Regions from separate parts of the Homo sapiens genome. Here region 1 is linked to region 2. The links are contacts of gene promoters, found by promoter capture Hi-C in human tissues and cell types (Jung and others, 2019). All regions are on one chromosome and are shown on one strand. Each heading gives the region's core, a stretch centred on a gene start or on the middle of the fragment in contact. The rest is flanking DNA. Distances are from core to core; before and after follow the strand shown. Region 1 overlaps CBFB (core-binding factor subunit beta). Region 2 holds the start of CES3 (carboxylesterase 3).

Region 1 (2,879 bases), core at 57-2,556, 130 kb after region 2:
GAGAAAAGAGTTATATTTTCATCAATGATTTAAGATCCTGTAGTCCCTTATGGCAGTAATTTAAAACATCAGTTCTTGTAGAGAACTGTCATCTGGAAAATTGGGCTGGAATCTGACTCCAGCACATGCACTGGCAATCACATAGGGGAGTTTGGGGTTTGTGTGTCTTTTGGCACTTAGCGTGTATATATTTTGCTTCTTTGTCTTTTTTTTCCATCCATAAAAAATTCCTAATGTCACCTTATTTTCTTGCAGTTTACCTTCTTTTTCCTAAAAAGAGAATATTGGAGAAAAATGTTGTTTCCCCTCTGTGATTCAGATTATCTTTAGAGATTCAAACATCATCTAATCTAACATTATTACAGTTGATAAAACTGAGAGTCTCCAAAAAATTAATTGACTTGCTCTCCCTCAAATATTTGGTTAATGGAAGAAACAGTGAGTATTTAAACCAGTTTCCTAACCAGGAGGCCTGCACAAATACAGCTTAGCGCTGGGAAATTAATTTCCACACCACCCGTAAAGATGCTTAAGCTGAAAAATAAAATCTGCCAGGAGAGATTAAGAACCGTTTTGCCTGGAATAGAAAAGGCTGAGGCAGAAAAGAAAAATAATGGTTCTAGTGGGTGGTCCTGATGCCTGACTGGAGAGGAGGGCCAGAGAACAGTGGTAACTCATGGGTGGCAGCAAGTCAGTAAACGGCCTGTGGAAGCTTGAGATCCTAGCAGCACAGAGGTTTAGGGATGTCCTCCACTGTTTGGATAACTTCTGAGGCCTCCAGCCCTGCCATGCTAAACTTGTAACAGTGGTGCTCGTGAGTATTTAATCTATGTGTAAGGTTAAGATTACTAAGGGGGGAAGCAGAACTCCAAGTGGTTGGTGGCCCAAGGGGTTTTGATTTTCAACAGTGTCTTTTAACCTGAAACTAGTTATAAAATTCCTTGAGCATTCTTCCATTTCACCATGTGTAAAATTTAGAAAGTTTTCGATCCTTCATGATAGGATTTAGTGTTTTCTTTTTCTCATTTTTCTGGAACAGCCTATTTCAGTAGTACAATATTTTCTTTACCTTTCAGAGGTAATGGCAGATTATCATTAACTTGAAATGAGAAACTATAGTGAAATGAAGAAGCATTGTTTATGTTAGTAACCTTTACCAAATACTCTTGTCATTGATATACATTAAAATGATATACATAAGGTACACAGTACTGTGTATAATATCTTACTCTCTGGGTATTTTTCCTACTCTGTGGGTAATTTTTGTTTAAATGTGCATAGTCATTCTCTAGTAGAATATCTAAGAAACTGGAACTAGAAACTATGGGGGAGAACCAGGTACCTGGGGGACAAAATAAGCAAATTATTATTTTTCACTGTGTATCTTCTGTACCTTATGAATTTTGTATCATTAATTATTTAGAAAAAAATAAAATTTGCTTTCAGTATTACACAGAATAATGAAAACAGAAGATTCTAGACCTTGCTATCTCTATTCTCTGGCATATAGGCTGTTTTTTATGTGAAACCCTTCCTCCATTTGAAATTGTATACAGAGCCCCACTGTATAAAACAGTTTTTTTAAAAGGCACTGCTCTGGGCAAAGCCAGGGTAGGGATTGTTCTGGTCTCCCTCTGGTGTCCCTGGGGGTGTTTTTACGGAACCCAGTGGGTGGCAGAACATAATGAGGACTCTGGATGTAGTGGAATGAGCACAAGGTTTTGCATCCCGGCTCCACTACTTGTTGCCATATAGCATTGAGAAAGTTGCTTATTCTCATTGAGCCTCATCAGTAAAAACTCCCTCCCAGGTTGTTGCAGAGCTCAGTATCTGAGGCTTAGAATGGGGACTCAGTGGAAGCCAGTTTCTTTACCCCTTCTTTCTGTGTACTTGGCTCACAATATATCTGGAGTGGCAGGAAAACAGTAAAAGTAGTCATATCCTAACTTTAGACTATGAAAGTCGAAGATACTATTTTGCCAAGCCATTTTAGATTCTGGTGTTTTTTGTTTGGTTGGTTGGTTTGGTTTTTTAAAACAACCAGTAAAGGATTTTGGACTTTTCTTGGCTCTGTTGGAGGCTACCAGTTACTGTGGGGATTGAGTAGTGACTAGAAGTGGGTATGAAGAGAACTTCCCATGTTCTGGTAATGTTAGTTCTTGACCTGGGTGCTAGTTAGGTGGGTGTGTTCGCTTTGTGAAAATTCTTCATTACATACTTAACAATTTGGGCACTATTCTGTACTTGTATAAAAAGAAGGCTTTTAAAAATAAAAAATAATCACAGACGTTACTTTTGTGAAATGCTCTCCATTGGCATCTGTTGCTATATAGAAGCATCCTAGCACCTTTTCTGTCTGAGAATCCTTCCTTGATCTGAAAATGTTGACATGTTTCCCATGACCTTTCTTTTTGGGGTATATATGTCTATAACTAATTCAAATGTCTTTTGTGAAGGAAGATGGAGGTTAATAAAGGACAGATTTCATGCTCTGATCATAGTTGAGTTAGAAAGATAGCAACTTGTACACTAGTCTCTGTTTCCAGAGACTGCCTTCAACTTGATTGGCCTTTTGACCTAAAACTGTAATATAGCACTCTTGGCTTTTAACTCAGCTCCAAGGTGACAGGGTGCTTAAAGATATTTTCTCTATTATCTTAAAAATGCCTACATTTGGTTAGATTATAAAGTGGCAGCAAATAAATGGTTGTCTTTAATGTCAGAGAATGGGTAAATTATTGTTTATCCTACTATGAGCAATTTTAATACAATTCAAATCATAGAATTTTATGTGGAAACTATTTGGAAATAAAAACAGGCAAAAAGTTTTATGTGGTTTTTGTATTTGTATTTTGCATAGTTTTGGGGCCTTCAATTCT
Region 2 (3,129 bases), core at 606-3,105:
GAGTGACTCTTTAACTTTTATGCCCTGGGCGCCTTGCTGGCCTGTCTCACCCTAGTCCTGGCCCTGGTAGGCCCATCCACAATGCTAGGAGGGAAGGCAGACCTAGCTGCAGGGAGTTGGGAAACGTGGCCTTGGGAGCAGATGGAGAGCTCTCCTGGCAGCATCTATACCCGAAGATGGAAGGTAAGATTGTGGGCGGAGAAGAGATCCAGGTGCCTTGATGTGAGTGTTGAAGGTGGAAAGCATGCCAGAGCCAGGTGCTAAAATCTTCAGCAAATGATCAAGGGGGTGTGGCTGGGGGGTGGCAGGGCTGTGATGGCAACAAGAAGAGGAAGGTGGAATAGGGAAGGACAAAGTCTGGAGGCAGCTCTGAAAAGGAGACCCCACCCCAGGCTGCCGGGGAAGATTCAGGAAGCTGCAATGGTTTTTTATGAATTTTTTTTTAGAGAGAGAGTCTTGCTATGTTGCCCAAGCTGGCCTCAAGCTCCTGGGCTGAAGCAATCCTCCTGCCTCAGCCGCCTGAGTAGCTGGGACTACAGACTTGTGCCACAATGCCCAGCTGGCACTAGTTATTTTTGGCAGAAGGGAAGTTTCATCCTAAAGCCTGTCTCTTCAGCTCTGGGTGCCAGCTGGAGCCCCGGAAGAGGATCTGGCATCGTGTTTAGGCACAACCCTCACTCTGTCTTTCACTGGGCCAGCAAATATCTATCCATCCTCCCACCGCCTACTCCCAGCCAGCCATGTTCCTGACACTGAGGCCCAGAAGTGAGTCCTGCCCTCCCTGGGGGTGGGAGCCTCCTAAGCCAGCAGAGAGACAGATGCCCTGCAGATCCCCGCCCCGGTCAAGAGCAGGCTTCCATCAGTTCTGGTTCCCAGACTCTCCTCTCCTCAGGCTTCCATGAGTTCTGGTTCCAAGCCCCTCCCCTCCTCTCCCCTCCCCTCCCTCCCTCCCTCCCTCTCTCTCTTTCTTTCTCTCTCTATTTTTCTTTTTTCTCTTTTTGTTTCTTTCTCTTTTTCTGTCTCTTTTTCTTTCTCTCTCTCCTTTCTCTCTCTCCTTCTTTCTCTCTCTCCTTTCTTTCTTCTCTCTCTCTCTTTCTCTCTTTCTTTGTCTTGCTCTATAGCCTAGCCTAGAGTGCAGTGGCATTATCACAGCTCACTGCAGTCTCGACAACCTGGGCTCAAGTGATCCTCTCACCTCAGCCTCCCAAGTAGCTGGGACCACAGGCATGCACCATCACACCTGGCTAATTTTTTTTATTTTTTCTAGAGACGTGTCTCCCTGTGTTGCCCAGGCTGGTCTCAAACTCCTGGGCTCAAGCGATCTTCCTGCCCCATCCTCCTAAAGCACTGGGATTACAGGTATGAGCCACCACACCCAGTCCCAAGCCTCATGTTTTCACACACACACTCACACACACATGCAAACATGTACCCTCACTTCAATGCTATGAGGTGGGTCCTATTATCATCACTGTTTTATTTTCTTTCACATTTTAACATGAGATTTGGAGGGGACAAAACATCCAAACCATATCAAGCCCTCACCTCAGGCTGGGTTGCCCACTCGGAGTGGCACCCCAGGGTCACTGGCCACCACTTCCTAGGGTCAGTGATGTGGTCACCTTGGGATGAACGCACAGGATTTCATGGAGATCACCAAGTCAGGAGAGCTGGAATTTGAAAACAGTGGGACGGGGAGGGCTGTCATATCAACCAGGCCTCTGCAGGGCACTCATCTAGCCCTGCCTCTGGCTCAGCCTGAGCATGGGGCTGGCCACCAGCTAGGTGGCGCTGTCCTTGGAGGTTCTATATCACAGCCCTTTAGAGATCGGTGGTGCTGAAGGGCAGGGATCTTATTCCACCTTCTGAAGCTTCTGTCGAACCAGTTGTAAGGAGAATGGAGAGAGCAGTGAGAGTGGAGTCCGGGGTCCTGGTCGGGGTGGTCTGTCTGCTCCTGGCATGCCCTGCCACAGCCACTGGTAAGACACACCTGCTGGGCCTGCAGAGGTACTTGGTGTGGAGGAGTCAAGAGTGAGACAGGGACAGGGAGCAGTGGGCCGACCGCTCAGGAAACAGTCCTGTTTGGAGGCAGACCAGGGGTTGTGCATTCTCTCTGGGCAGGCGCTCTGCTCTTGCTGTATTTGTTTCGTTGTTTTTGTTGTTGTTGTTTGAGACAGAGTTTTGCTCTTGTTACCCAGGCTGGAGTGCAATGGCGCGATCTCGGCTCACTGCAACCTCCGCCTCCTGGATTCAAGCGATTCTCCTGCCTCAGCCTCCTGAGTAGCTGGGATTACAGGCACCTGCCACCATGGCCGGCTAATTTTTGTATTTTTAGGAGAGATGGGGTTTCACCATGTGGGCCAGGCTGGTCTCAAACTCCTGACCTCAGGTGACCCACCTGCCTCGGCCTCCCAAAGTGCTGGGATTACAGGCGTGAGCCACCGCACCTGGCCTGTCTTTATGTCTTAAGGGGGCCTGAGATTTGTTTTAATGAAGTATAGTAAGACAAGCAGATATGCAAATGACTATCATGAGGGAAGGAGTTTGCTCGTAGTTCCCTGTGAACAGGAAGCAGGCCATGCCACATAGGGCCACAGAGGGAAGCACCAGGTGGCATCAGCCAGGAGGCAGAGGGAGCAGGGGGAAAATGTGGGCAAGCCCCTTTGACACGGTTGCCACGGGAAGGAATAGGCAAGGCAGGCTAAAGAGGTTTACGATTGGCAGCAGGCTCTGGGGAAAGGGGCTGTCCCCAGCCAGCTTCCTGGTACCCGGCTCTGTGGTGATTATGGCTGGTGGATGGCAGCCAGGAGCTGAGAGCTGTATAAAGGAGGTGGTTGGGTATGGCTCTGGACTGGTTTGCCTTTGCTCCCTAGAGAGATGCCTGCCAATTCCACCTCCCCAGAGAGCTGCCTCCTATCTCTAGGAATTGTCTAGCCTGGGAGAGGCAGTCCTCCAGTCTTAGTCTGTTTGTGTTGTTGTAAAAGAATACAGGAAGCTGGGTAATTCACAAAGAAAAGAAGTTTAGTTAGGCCACAGTTCTGCAGGCCGTACAAGAAACATGGTGCCAGCTGGGCATGATGGCTCACACCTGTCGTCCCAGCACTTGGGGAGGCTGAGGTGAAAGGATTG

What was found. The method cuts DNA at HindIII sites, captures the fragments that hold promoters and counts their contacts. A contact is called where the count stands out against the background at its distance.
Region 1: a contact is called between a fragment that was not itself captured here and the fragment with the promoter of CES3 in region 2, in 2 of the 25 tissues and cell types used here (IMR-90 fibroblasts and dorsolateral prefrontal cortex).

Annotation. Positions count from the first base shown.
Region 1 is chr16:67,088,038-67,090,916 of GRCh38, forward strand. All of the region lies in intron 5 of CBFB (core-binding factor subunit beta), which reads left to right. Among named protein-coding and RNA genes, the nearest start is that of PHAF1, 20 kb to the right of the region's middle. The HindIII fragment of the contact is 5,567 bases long and covers 1-2,879 here.
Region 2 is chr16:66,959,411-66,962,539 of GRCh38, forward strand. It overlaps CES3 (carboxylesterase 3), which reads left to right and starts at 1,856. Exons shown (of 13, transcript NM_024922.6): 1 at 1,856-1,979. The coding sequence starts at 1,898. RefSeq lists enhancers at 1,498-1,747, 1,552-2,053, 1,838-2,047. The HindIII fragment of the contact is 25,956 bases long and covers 1-3,129 here.